Regions from separate parts of the Homo sapiens genome. Here all the other regions are linked to region 2. Evidence: promoter capture Hi-C in human tissues and cell types (Jung and others, 2019). All regions are on one chromosome and are shown on one strand. Each heading gives the region's core, a stretch centred on a gene start or on the middle of the fragment in contact. The rest is flanking DNA. Distances are from core to core; before and after follow the strand shown. Region 1 has its middle 90 kb from the start of C13orf42. Region 2 holds the start of KCNRG (potassium channel regulator). Region 3 overlaps LOC124903174 (a long non-coding RNA gene). Region 4 overlaps LOC107984554 (a long non-coding RNA gene). Region 5 has its middle 31 kb from the start of C13orf42.

The links. The method cuts DNA at HindIII sites, captures the fragments that hold promoters and counts their contacts. A contact is called where the count stands out against the background at its distance.
Region 1: a contact is called between a fragment that was not itself captured here and the fragment with the promoter of KCNRG in region 2, in 1 of the 25 tissues and cell types used here (dorsolateral prefrontal cortex).
Region 3: a fragment that was not itself captured here is called in contact with the fragment with the promoter of KCNRG in region 2 in 1 of the 25 tissues and cell types used here (dorsolateral prefrontal cortex).
Region 4: a fragment that was not itself captured here is called in contact with the fragment with the promoter of KCNRG in region 2 in 1 of the 25 tissues and cell types used here (dorsolateral prefrontal cortex).
Region 5: a contact is called between a fragment that was not itself captured here and the fragment with the promoter of KCNRG in region 2, in 1 of the 25 tissues and cell types used here (dorsolateral prefrontal cortex).

The regions. Positions count from the first base shown.
Region 1 is chr13:51,019,994-51,022,693 of GRCh38, reverse strand. It overlaps the pseudogene GUCY1B2. Among named protein-coding and RNA genes, the nearest start is that of C13orf42, 90 kb to the left of the region's middle. The HindIII fragment of the contact is 5,319 bases long and covers 1-2,700 here.
Region 2 is chr13:50,014,146-50,016,845 of GRCh38, reverse strand. KCNRG (potassium channel regulator) reads right to left here and starts at 1,402. Exons shown (of 2, transcript NM_173605.2): 1 at 775-1,402. The coding sequence starts at 1,352. TRIM13 (tripartite motif containing 13) reads right to left here. Exons shown (of 2, transcript NM_213590.3): 2 at 1-2,700. All of the region lies in intron 10 of DLEU2 (deleted in lymphocytic leukemia 2), which reads left to right. The HindIII fragment of the contact is 16,932 bases long and covers 1-2,700 here.
Region 3 is chr13:48,545,255-48,547,954 of GRCh38, reverse strand. The region is part of intron 1 of LOC124903174 (a long non-coding RNA gene); the gene reads right to left. Among named protein-coding and RNA genes, the nearest start is that of RCBTB2, 14 kb to the right of the region's middle. The HindIII fragment of the contact is 5,674 bases long and covers 1-2,700 here.
Region 4 is chr13:51,193,342-51,196,041 of GRCh38, reverse strand. The region is part of intron 1 of LOC107984554 (a long non-coding RNA gene); the gene reads left to right. It also overlaps the pseudogene PRELID3BP2. Among named protein-coding and RNA genes, the nearest start is that of FAM124A, 28 kb to the left of the region's middle. The HindIII fragment of the contact is 3,934 bases long and covers 1-2,700 here.
Region 5 is chr13:51,079,141-51,081,840 of GRCh38, reverse strand. No RefSeq gene overlaps it. Among named protein-coding and RNA genes, the nearest start is that of C13orf42, 31 kb to the left of the region's middle. The HindIII fragment of the contact is 3,142 bases long and covers 1-2,700 here.

The DNA of each region.
Region 1 (2,700 bases), core at 7-2,506, 1.0 Mb before region 2:
GAAATCCAATTTATCTATTTTCTTTTTTGTTGCCAGTGATTTTGGTGCCATATCCAAGAAATTGTTGCCAAATCTGATGTTGTGAAACTTTTCTTCTATGTTTTCTTTTAAGAGTTTATGTTTTAGCTCTTACATTTAGGTCTTTGATTCCTTTTGAGCAAATTTTTGCATATGCCTTGAAAGGGCACACATTCTGAGCTATCTTTCTATTAGAGGGATGTTTAGTTATTCCAGGGATAAGCACAGGCAGAACTCGGGGGATGTCCAAGGGGAGAATGACATGTTCTGGGAACCCGAGTGAGGTGTAGAGTGGAGTGATGGGAGAGGAGGCTGGCAAGATGAGGACTTGAACTCTATCATGCAGCTGGAAACATGCTGAAGTGTCTGCCATGATCAGATTTGATGTTTAGAATGATCACTCTGGAGGTGTGTGAAGGATGGGTCACAGTGTAGAGAAAATGGATCCTGGGAGGCCAGACAGAGGCTGCTTCTGGAGTCCAGGAAAGAAACTCTAAAGTGCTAAACTCTGGCAGTGGCACTGGAGTGGCAATTGGAGGATAGACTCACAAGATAATTAAGGCAGGACTTGGTGACTGGATGTGGGGGGTGGAAGAGAATCGTTAGGATAATTATTAGCTTCCTTGATTGGGTAACTGGGTGATGAAGGTGCAATTAACTGAAAAAAAGACATAATGTAATGTCCTTGAGGCAGGGATTTTTGCCAGTTTGAGTCACTGCTGTATCCTCAATGCTTAAAACAGTGTGCCTAGCTCATCGCAGGGACTAACTACATATGTAATGAAAGAACTAATAGAAAGAGAAGATTTGTGGAGGGGATCGAAGTTGAGTTCAGTGCAGATATCCATGAACAGATACCTAATAGGGAGAACAGAAGAAAAAAAAACACTGTTCCTGGAGGTATTAATTGTCAGAATCATCCTAGAGTGTATTTTGGCAATACGTATCAAAAGCCTTAAAAATGAGGATATTCTTTGTCTAAGTAACCCGTGTCTAAGAATATATCTTTTTAACAAACTAACTAGCCATGATTATACACAAAGACTGCCTCAAGCTTATTCATCACAATGTTGTTTATACAATGATAAGCTAGATAAAATATAATCAATACTAGCTTATTATTTAATAAAAGACAGTATGAGCAAGGTAACCAGCAAAAATTAAGATGAATATCTATATTTAATACTATGAAAGAATATGTTATATATTTTAAGTGAAAAATTCAGATTATGAAAAGAAGATGCCATGTAATCCCTGTTTTTTTGTAAAACAAAGATATACTACAAAATATTAACAGTAATTATCCATGTGGTATGATTATGGGTGATTTTTACTATTTTCTTTCACTTTTTTTGTTTTCTGCAATGAATGTGTACTGCTTTTACAATAACATAACAAACATATCTATTTTTAAAGAAATACACATATTGAGTTCAGGAAGCAAGGTTTCTCTGGAAATTCAGATGCAGTCAGCGTGGTGTAGGATGCAGTTGTGTGATGCTAAATGAGAATACCAAGACAAAACCCTCAGGAACACTAACATTTAAGGAATGAGATTAAAATAATGTAAGTAAAAATTCAAAGAATTAGGGGACATCTCAGAGAGAAAGCAGTGTCAGAGAAGTCCTAGGAAGTGAGATTTCGGGAAGAAGGGTCTGGTTAACATCATCAAACAGCAGAAAGGCTGAGTAAAGAAAAGGCCAAGGAACTTGTGTTGGCATCGGTAGCATGGAGGCCATTGATAGATGGGAGCCACTTCAATGTAGGCAATGGACACAGCTGCTAGGGACAGAGGGGAGATAAGTAAGGTCTCACAGACCTTGGGTAAAAGAGAAAGAGCGTGACTGTGCAGTAACTAGAAGCACACAGTGTGGGAGATGATTGGTTGTCCAGCGAGCTCGTCTCAGTCCCTACTGGTGACATACTCTACTGTTGCATTTCTCTCCATGATGGCAAGGCCAGATGATCTGGATGGAGTCCATGTGGTGCATGGTGTACCTGTGCTCTCCGAAGCTCCGCAGCCTGCAAGAGCTGGAAGAACTCAATATGCATCTTTCTGACATCGCCCCCAACGACACCACCAGGGATCTCATCCTCCTGAACCAGCAGCGGCTGGCTGAGATAGAGCTGTCCAACCAGCTGGAAAGGAAGAAGGAGGAGCTACAGGTCCTCTCCAAGCACTTGGCCATTGAAAAGAAGAAAACAGAGACCTTACTTTATGCCATGCTGCCCAAACACGTGGCCAACCAGCTGAGGGAGGGCAAAAAGGTGGCTGCAGGTAAGGCACCCTCTCCTCCACAGCGTCCTCTGAGCAGAGCGTGGTATGTCTTAGTGGTCAGGGCCACAGGCTTTGAAGCCAGACAGAAGTGGTTTTGAATTCTGGCTCTGTCACTTGTAAGTGGCATGATCTTGGGGTAATTACTCCACCTGCATATTCTCAGCTTTGTTCTCTCTACATTAATAATAATAATAATAAAAATAATACAGGAGTGAAACATGAATTATATAAAAATGGTTGTCAACTACACACACATTAAATTCTCTAAGAATTTAAGGATATGTCCTGAGACTGGCCTCATTACTCAGTGACAATGAGTAGGGTTCTTAACTTTAACTAGAAATAATACACTCGCACACTAGTTAAATCATAGGGTTCCTCTGAGGACCATTCTGGGACAGTAT
Region 2 (2,700 bases), core at 153-2,652:
CAATAAAGAACACATGCAGGCTTTTCTTTTCCTCCTAAAAATTAAAGCCAGCTTTCACAGTTGGTAAAATAATGGTAGGACAGCATTAAGACATTTTACGGGGGGAAAAATGTTTGTGACAGCAGAGTGGAAATCAGCGTTAGGATCCAGCCAAGAACAACAGAGGGAGTAAGTGAAGAATTGACTCAGGAGCAACTATCCTTAACATACTGACAGCCTATCCCAATATTTTGAGTTGTTTAAGAGCCAAGGCTGTAACAGGATACCAAATTTGCCATGAGATATATCTGTCTTTAAGGGTGTTTAAAAATAAAGTCAGCTGAAGGAAAAACAGTAGTTGAATCATAAAACTGAAAGAACAACTTATATAGTGTGTAAGGAACTCAAGAGAAACCAGTGAGCGAGCCTTTATGTGAACCACTGAAACAATCTCTTAAAAATAAGGCAATTCTTTTCTAAGTCAAATTCATTAGCAATGGAACATAATCTACAAAATTATTTTCTCCCATGATTTGAATGTCCATAGTCTCAGTTTTTTCTGGGCAGTCTTCATTTATTCCTTTTGTCCCACCTAATAATAGCCCCTTTCACTCTAAAAAGTATCCCAGTTTGGAAAATAATTATTTGGTCATTCTACCCAACTCCACTGGTTACCCCAAAACATTATTTTGAATAATCATCTTTTCCAGAAGTTACAGGCCTGAGGAACTTCAAGTTTTTAGAGAAAACATCACAAACTGGTATACAAGAGAAATACTGCAAAGTACAAAATACCTGACTCCAGTTTGGTTATCAGTAGTGCTGTCAGAACCACACTGGAAAACCAGGTCATGGTAAGAAGGTCTTTGTGGAGGCAGTGGAAGTAAGGTCATCTGAGGAGGGAAAAAGTTACCATTCCAGGTCGGCGCTGAAGGTTGTTCTGTAAACACTGTAATCCTCCCTGTTAGCATCTCAATTGTTTTGCTGCAAGAGCCAAACACCCTGAAAAAAGCTTGAGTGTTCCGGCTTAGGAAATGTACCTCCACAAGAGCAGGTCTTGGCTGTAGCAGGTATGGGTTTAAGAGATCAACTAGAGAACGAAGTTCATAGAAAAGAGCCTCTCTCTGAAGCCTAAGATAGTCTGAAAATTCAGTGGGTAATAAAAGCTGGTGAGTTCTCAAAAAATCTAAGATGAAACTAAACAAATCACCATCTCTGTCTACAAAAATCTGGCCACCAACCATCTTGAATTCTTGGTCTCTGCCATCTAACATGCGTGCCAAACGAGAAGCAGGAAACTGCTTTATCGTAGAAAACCTTGTCGTGAATATCTTCCCTCCCACATTCAAAGTGACCAGTTCCTGACTACTCATTCTTCCCTCACTTCAAACTAGAGGCTACCATCAGCCACACTTAGGAAATCAACCTATAACCATAAATGTTGCTAGTTATACATGATTATGCAGTGGAGGGGAGGGAAGAATAACAAAAACCAGACTTAGATTCCCAGGAAACTACTGTAAGGTAAATAGTGTATCCATGGCTGTGTTTGCAAATTCGAGTTGCCTGGGAACTTGCAGTATACAAAATGAAAAAGCAACAGATGAGGAACTAAATAGCTTAAGGAAAACTGCCAATATATCTGAAGATAGACATCAAATAGATCCCTTTCCTGTCTTACATTTAAAAACTTATCCATGAAAACCTAGTAAAACTATATATATATATATATATATATATATATATATATATATATATATATATATATATATTTTTTTTTTTTTTTTTTTTATTACTGGGAGGGGAAAAGCATTCTCCCTCCCCATACCTGTCTACCACGCAGAGGCTAGACTTAAACGTTTTTCTTAATTTCTTATGATCTCCTTAGAAATTTAGTGGCTAAATCATGAATTACATGTTAGGAATGAGACAGCCTGGCAAGCTCAATTTGACTATTCTCATAGCTAGAAGGAAATCATTTCTTCTGTGCTTTAAATTTAGTTGCCACCTTTTATCCTGTCCCCATTTTCATTACCTCCTCTCAACCAAATTAGAGGAGGACTGAGGTAAAGAACTCTTATTTTCAGAAAGTCTATTCCACTTAATGGGCTTTCAAGGAATATCTTACTCTATGACACAAATAAGGCAGACTAGAGAGCAGTTATAAGGTTACTTCTTTGTTATATGAATTCTAAGCAAGGTGTTTATTCCATGAGAGGGTATCTTTATCTCTTGTGAGCAGACAGAACAGCATTAGTGTTCAGCTGATTACTTTGTAATAGCTGACAGACTGTTTTATCTGTTGTCAAATTAGTCTTAACTACACTAAACATTCTTTCTGTAAGCAAGTGGATTGGTTTGGTTGTACACTTGCCATCTTTCGAACAAAACAACACATAGCTGCCAGAAAAAAGGTAGTCTTCCCATTTCCTGCTCTTGCCATGTGTTCTATATATACATATATATGTATATATATGTATGTGTACATATGTGTGTGTGTGTGTGTATATATATATATATATTTTTTTTTTTTTTTTTTTTTTTTTTTTTTTTGGTAGAGACTGGGTCTTGCTATGTTTACGAAGCTGGTTTCGAACTGGAACTCCTAGCCTCAAATAATCCTCCCACATCACTGTCCTAGAATGCTGAGATTATAGACATGAGCCACCCTGCCCAGCCAGCTGATCCTTTTTTTTAACCTATCTATGCTTTTGCTTGCAT
Region 3 (2,700 bases), core at 182-2,681, 1.5 Mb after region 2:
ACTCAGCCAGTCTTAAATGCCTGGCTAAAAAAGGTCTGAAACACAAAAGCAAATATGGGTAGGTTTTCGTTTATTCTTTTTCCAAAATGTCAAAAGCAGATATTTATTTATTTATTTGAGATAGGGTTTACTTTGTCACCCAGGCTGGAGTGCAGTGGGAGGATCATAGCTCACTGCAGCCTTGAACTCTTGGGCTCAAGTGATCCCCCGACCTCTACCTCCCCAGTAGCTAGGACTACAGATGTGCGCCACCACACCCAGTTATGACCAGGCCCATTCCAGAAATTATAAGAACACTCCAAGGTGCTAGAGATGGGGGTCTCACTATGTTGCCTAGATGGTCTCGAGCTCCTGGCCTCAGTGGATCCTCCTAAAGTGCTGGGATTACAGGCATGAGCCACTGTGCTTAGCCTTAATTTTTTTTTTTTTTTTTTGAGACAGAGTCTTGCTCTGTCACCCAGGCTGCAGTGCAGTGGCATAATCTCGGCTCACTGCAACCTCCACCTTCCAGGTTCAAGTGATTCTCCTGCCTCAGCCTACAGAGTAGCTGAGATTACAGGTGCACACTACTATGCCCGGCTAATTTTTGTATTTTAATAGAGACGGGTTTTCTCTGTTTTGGCCAGGGTGGTCACGAACTCCTGGCCTCAAGAAATCTACTTGCCTCGGCCTCCCAAAGTGCTGTGATTATAAGCATGAGCACCATGCCCAGGCTGGCCTTAATTTTTTAAATAAGAGGTTGTATACATATTTTACCTACTAGATTTAAATAGAAATTTTCTGTATATGATTAAGACTAGTTATATATTAAGATAGAATTAACCATGTAAGCCTTCTGATATTGTAGCAACAAACACAGATGAAATGAAAGGACGCAATGTATACATTCTCATGAAATGGTCACTTGAGTTCCATTGAAATCTGTGTTCATAGCCTAAATGTAGTAAATTGAGATAATATGGATAATCTCAGTCAAAACTCATTTATCTCATCATTATTTAACTATATCAGGTCCAAGTTATGCCATGTGACTCAGCTCTTCATTTTCTAAAACTTTAAAGTTTTAAATCCGTAGGAAGTTTCATCCATTTTTAAAATATGCTGTAAGAAGATGCTGGATTCAGACAGACCTGGGCTTGGTACTCAGTTCATCTTAAACAAGTTACTCAGCCTCTTTAAGCCTCTCTTTTCTAAAATGAGGACAGTGACACAGTGCTCATCTCATGGAGTTATTGTGAGGCTTAAAATAGGTCATATGTAAGGACTTAGAGCAATGCCTAAACATAATATGCATGCTCCAATATTGTCATTATCACTATGATTAATGGCACATGGTACCTAGTACACAGCACTCAATAAGTGTTAGTTCCTTTTCTCTCTAACAGAAGCTCTTGTTGCCATGGTTCTGCATTTCAAATCATTTGCCATATACATGTCTTACCACTAATTTATATTCTAAAGCCAAATCAGTTCAGGGTAAAGGAGTTACACTGAGACAGGAGTTTCAGGGACAATGCTAAAAACATCAACTTTGTTCTAAAAAATAGTTTTGATCATATTCTGTGAACAGACGAGAATTGTATGACTTAGCGGTGTCAGCTTTCTAGCATTATCTTCAAAACACAATTTTCCGTTTCACAGTGGATGCTTTCATAGTGATCCATAGGCCTGTATCCTCTGATGAGCCTAGAAAGCATCAGAATAATCCTCTTCAAGTCTCAAACACTGAAAGAAAAAGGGAGGGGACCAGCAGGTTCCCTGAGGATTATCTCTTTGGGGTAGAAAATCCTCTGAGCTTTTTGGAAGATGTGGAAGACGTATCTGATCCATGAGCTGGTTCAAGTGGTCCTATGGGGTAGGAAAGGGAACAGGGAACTAGGAAGACTGGTTAAATGAGGGCCTGGACATTCCCATGAATGAAGTGGCAGTGCTGGGTCATAGGTGATCAGGAAAGACAGAGTGCTATGGAAAATGTTGAGATACACAGATGTGCTGGGAAAGCATTCCAGGATGTTGAAACCCCGAGTGAGCCAAGGAAAAGCTAAATCCTAATCAAAGAGAAGTCCAAAAGAAAGCCCTGTCAATCTTGTGGAAAGAGATCAGAAATAGAAGTGAACTGAGGTGAAAAGTAAATAGAAGAGAGCATGGGGCATAGCCACAGAGCCTGGAGCATTGCATTGCATCTTCCCGGTTTCTCAATAGTGTGGGTCCTGCCTACTTGGCAGCCCTGTTGTAAACCATTGACTGATAATCGCCTCCAAATTTGCCTGTCTTAAGCTTCATTTCTCCTTCTATAAATTACTTGAGAAGTCCCCTGGGAACAGAATCAACAGCCATTTTGGTGGTGATGTTGGGACAGGGTTTCAGTCCCACGGGCCATACCCCAGGCTGCATAACTCCAGGGGATAGGGCCAGAAATTTTCTATAGACCTCTCTCTTAATTTTAATTTTGGAAACCCTGAAGCTGAGTTTACCTCAAACCCATCACAAGGGTAATTATCTCAAAGTACAGAAAAAATTAAAATGTTCATGTTGTTTCTTATTCCACTGTCATGTATATGAGACCATCAGTTTAGACTATACTATTGAGCTTTAGAAACATTATACCAGGTCTTGCAAAATGAGACGATATATTGGTTTCCAAGGTTTCTCTAGCGACTTGTGTCTCAGGCCCCAGACTCTAGCTAGGAACTAGCACAC
Region 4 (2,700 bases), core at 55-2,554, 1.2 Mb before region 2:
AGTCTATGGCTCTACAACTTTCCAGAGGGACCTGTATTTCTGTTCAGTACGTCAAATCCAACCATTCTTGGGTTCCTAGGGTTTGGATGTTTCTGCACTGCAGCTGTTGTAACAGTGTCCCATGGGTTGTCAAAGATATGCTCTGAAGTCCAGATCTTCATGGTGCTGGTGGCATGCAGGTAGTGACAGGGGACATGAGGCAAAGAAGTGACACCTGCTCCCACCCACCCCTACTGACTCCCTGTATACTACTTAATCATTTTTTTCTCCATGTTGCATTCTGTATAATTTCTTCTGATTTATCCTTCAGTTTACTAATTCTCTTCAATCACATAGAATCTGCTGTTTAACCCATCCATGTAATTTTAAATTTTATTGTGTTTTTATTTCTATGAAATTCCATTTTAAAATCTGCTTTGTCATTTTTTATCTTTTTCTGTTTCTGCAGAGTTCCACAAGTTTTATCTTTTATGGATTCAAACATAGTGAGCATGATTATTTTATAGACTGATAATTCCTATGTAAGCCTTGTGAATCTACTTCTGTTACCTGTTGCTTCTGCTGGTTCTTTCTCATGGAGTCTAGCTTCCTACCTGCCTAGTTATCTTTGACTGGATATTAGATGTTGTATTTGGAAAAAAAAAACGCATAGGGGTTATTTGAAGCCTAAGATTAAGGAAAACTTCATTCAGATAGGATTTCTAATTGTTTCTGCCAGGCATGGAGATGCTACCAGTTTGGGATGACCTTAAAACAAATTCAAGGCTTGAGATTCACTAGATCAGGGGTCCCCAACCCCCAGGCCACAAACCTACCTAGATAGGCCTGTGGCCTATTAGGAACTGGGCCGCACAGCAGAAGATGAGCGGCGGGCAAGGGAGCTTCATCGGTATTTACAGCCACTCCCCATCACTCGCATTACCACCTGAGCTCTGCCTCCTGTCAGATCAGGGCAGCATTAGATTCTCATAGGAGTGCAAACCTCGTTGTGAACAGCACATGTGAGGGATCTAGGTTACATGCTCCTTATGAGAATCGAATGCCTGATGATCTGTCACTGTCTCCCATCACCCCCAGACGGGACTGTCTAGTTGCAGGAAAACAAGCTCAGGGCTCCCATTGGTTCTACATTATGGTGAGTTGTATAATTATTCCATTATATATTACAATGTAATAATAATAGAAATAAAGTACAAAATAAATGTAATGCACTTGAATCATCCTGAAACCATCCCCCTACTCCAGTCTGTGGAAAAGTTGTCTTCCACGAAGCCAGTTGCTAGTGCCAAGAAGGTTGGGGACCACTACACTGGATGATCCAGGAATCAGGTTTAGGTGTAATTTTATGTGACATCATCTATTCCTGAACTAGCCTCACCTTTTAGACCCTTTAAGGTCCCAGTCTTTTAAGTTCTCAAAACTAGAAATTGTTTTATTGTTGTATCCCCATAATGTTTAGGTCCCCAAGAAGACTGTTTTGGGATGGACACATGTCCTCAGAGCAAAGACAGATATTTTCTCCCCCTTGGACTATAATTTTTCTTCATTTTTATATTTCCTTATCATTTTGCCAGCTCTTACATGTTTTAAAATATTTTGTCCAGAGTTTTTAATTGCTAAGTTTTGTTTGGCTTTAATAATTTAGCCCATTGTTACTGGAATTAAGGAGAGCTCTTAGATATATTTTGAAGGCAAACCGGAGACTTTCTGATGGACTGGAAGGAGCATGTGAAAGAAAGGAGTCAGGAGACTGTAAGATCTTTGACCTGTGCAACTAAGAGTGAGGGGAGCAGACAGGGAAGCAGGCTATGGGAAGGTTCAGGAATTTACTTTGGGGCATGTTAAGAGGCCTACTGTAGTTTGATTTAAAAGTAATGGCAAAAACCGCAGTTACTTTTGCACCAACCTAATAGCTATGCCAGTTAAGAAGATGAGTAGGTAGCTGGGTATATAAGCTTGGAGTTCAGGGAGGAGGTTAAATCTAGAGGTTAAAACCCAAGGATGATTGCTGAAGACCTGTTCTTGAAGTGGCAGTCGTTGTTTGAAATGTATTAAGATCACTTCTGCAAATTTAGATGGACAAGACTATACTAGTGACAAGGTTTTAAAAACTGAGGAAACAACGCAAGATTTTCTGAGGATATCTGAGTATAGCATTTTTGGTAATTGTTTCTTATTTATTGCAAATTATGTTTGATAACTAGAAAACAGATTAAATAAGAGACAGGGACATTTCCCAATTCTGTGCCCACTGACCACTCAATTTTATTTCTATACATACATCAATTTCTAGAATATAAAGCCATGCATTTTCTAGTCTTACAGTCAGAAGAAAGGAGTTGGTTACTCAGGCAGAATGCCCAATCTCTGCTAAGAGGCCCTTTGGAAATAAAATGTATTCTTCCAGGGGTAAGTTGAATGTGGTCCTGAATGAAGGCGAGAGAGAAAAGTCGCTGACCTTTCATTTTCCTTGACATTGTTGATTTGATTTTTGCATCTATTTTTGTAATAATTCAGTAGGGTACAGGAATCATTTTCCTTTTCATCACTTTTGTGTTTGTTTAAAATCCAGCATTCCATCCTACTCCCTTTCACTCTGTATCTTTATTTGTCTTATCTTTTTGTCCACACAGATACTATGTCCAAATAACAGATGAATACAAGTTATCAGATAAAAAGCTGTTTTTAATGTGAGCCCTT
Region 5 (2,700 bases), core at 43-2,542, 1.1 Mb before region 2:
CCCAGCCATGTGCCATGCAACTGAGAGCATTGCTGCCAAGACCGACCTTCCTGGTGCCCATTCTCAGACACAGAGCCCAAAGTGTCTCTAACAGGACACTGTGTTCCTCTCACCACTGTTCGCCTTTGCAGAGAGAATGAGTTTCCTGTTGCTGCTGTAATAAATTACCACAGACTTAAAGGCTTAAAACAATATATATTTATGCTTTTACAGTCTGGAAGTCAGAAGAACCAAAATCAGTTTCACCAGGTTAGGTCAAGATGTTGGCAGGGCTGTGTTCCTTCTGGAAGCTTTAGAGGAGAATCCATTTCCTTGCTTTTTTCAGCTTTCAGGGGCTTCCTGCATTCCTTGGCTGGTGACCCCATCCTTGCATCACTCCAACCTATTGATTCCATCATCATGTCTCCACCTGCTCAGTCTGTGCTCCTGCTTCCCATTTATAAGGATTTTTTTTTTTTTTTTTGAGACAGAGTTTTGCTCTTGTTGCCCAGGCTGGAGTGCAATGGGCACGATCTTGGCTCACCGCAGCCTCTGCCTCCTGGGTTCAAGTGATTCTCTTGCCTCAGCCTCCTGAGTAGCTGGGATTACAGGCATGTGCCACCATGCCTGGCTAATTTTGTATTTTTAGTAGAGACGGGGTTTCCCCATGTTGGTCAGGCTGGTCTCGAACTCCTGACCTCAGGTGATCTGCCCACCTTGGCCTCCCAAAGTGCTGGGATTACAGGTGTGAGCCTACGTGCCCGGCCCATTTATAAGGATCTTTGTGATTACATCACTCTCACCTGAGCAATCTCTCCATCTCCAAATCCTTAATTTAATCAAATCTGCAAAATATCTTTTGCCATATAAAATGACATTCACAGGTTCTGGGGATTAGGATGGAAACATCTTTGGGAAGCCATTATCTAGCCAACCATACAGCATCACAAGATGTTCTAGTCCTAACAGACCCAGCCCAATTCCCTTTTAAGCTTCATTATAAAAGCCCAATATTGGGAGGAGCCAAGATGGCCGAATAGGAACAGCTCCGGTCTACAGCTCCCAGCGTGAGCGACGCAGAAGACGGGTGATTTCTGCATTTCCATCTGAGGTACCGGGTTCATCTCACTAGGGAGTGCCAGACAGTGGGCGCAGGTCAGTGGGTGTGTGCACCGTGTGCGAGCCGAAGCAGGGCGAGGCATTGCCTCACTCGGGAAGCACAAGGGGTCAGGGAGTTCCCTTTCCGAGTCAAAGAAAGGGGTGACGGACGGCACCTGGAAAATCGGGTCACTCCCACCCGAATACTGTGCTTTTCCGACGGGCTTAAAAAACGGTGCACCACCAGATTATATCCTGCACCTGGCTCGGAGGGTGCTACGCCCACGGAGTCTCGCTGATTGCTAGCACAGCAGTCTGAGATCAAACTGCAAGGCGGCAGCGAGGCTGGGGGAGGGGCGCCCGCCATTGCCCAGGCTTGCTTAGGTAAACAAAGCAGCCGGGAAGCTCCAACTGGGTGGAGCCCACCACAGCTCAAGGAGGCCTGCCTGCCTCTGTAGGCTCCACCTCTGGGGGCAGGGCACAGACAAACAAAAAGGCAGCAGTAACCTCTGCAGACTTAAATGTCCCTGTCTGACAGCTTTGAAGAGAGCAGTGGTTCTCCCAGTACTCAGCTGGAGATCTGAGAACGGGCAGACTGCCTCCTCGAGTGGGTCCCTGACCCCTGACCCCCGAGCAGCCTAACTGGGAGGCACCCCCCCAGCAGGGGCACACTGACACCTCACAGGGCAGGGTACTCCAACAGACCTGCAGCTGAGGGTCCTGTCTGTTAAAGGAAAACTAACAAACAGAAAGGACATCCACACCAAAAAACCATCTGTATATCACCATCATCAAAGACCAAAAGTAGATAAAACCACAAAGATGGGGAAAAAACAGAACAGAAAAACTGGAAACTCTAAAAAGCAGAGCGCCTCTCCTCCTCCAAAGGAACGCAGTTCCTCACCAGCAACGGAACAAAGCTGGATGGAGAACGACTTTGACGAGCTGAGAGAAGAAGGCTTCAGACGATCAAATTACTCTGAGCTACAGGAGGACATTCAAACCAAAGGCAAAGAAGTTGAAAACTTTGAAAAAATTTTAGAAGAATGTATAACTAGAATAACCAATACAGAGAAGTGCTTAAAGGAGCTGATGGAGCTGAAAACCAAGGCTCGAGAACTATGTGAAGAATGCAGAAGCCTCAGGAGCCGATGCGATCAACTGGAAGAAAGGGTATCAGCGATGGAAGATGAAGTGAATGAAATGAAGTGAGAAGAGAAGTTTAGAGAAAAAAGAATAAAAAGAAATGAGCAAAGCCTCCAAGAAATATGGGACTATGTGAAAAGACCAAATCTACGTCTGATTGGTGTACCTGAAAGTGACAGGGAGAATGGAACCAAGTTGGAAAACACTCTGCAGGATATTGTCCAGGAGAACTTCCCCAATCTAGCAAGGCAGGCCAACGTTCAGATTCAGGAAATACAGAGAACACCACAAAGATACTCCTCGAGAAGAGCAACTCCAAGACACATAATTGTCAGATTCACCAAAGTTGAAATGAAGGAAAAAATGTTAAGGGCAGCCAGAGAGAAAGGTCGGGTTACCCTCAAAGGGAAGCCCATCAGACTAACAGCGGATCTCTCGGCAGAAACCCTACAAGCCAGAAGAGAGTGGGGGCCAATA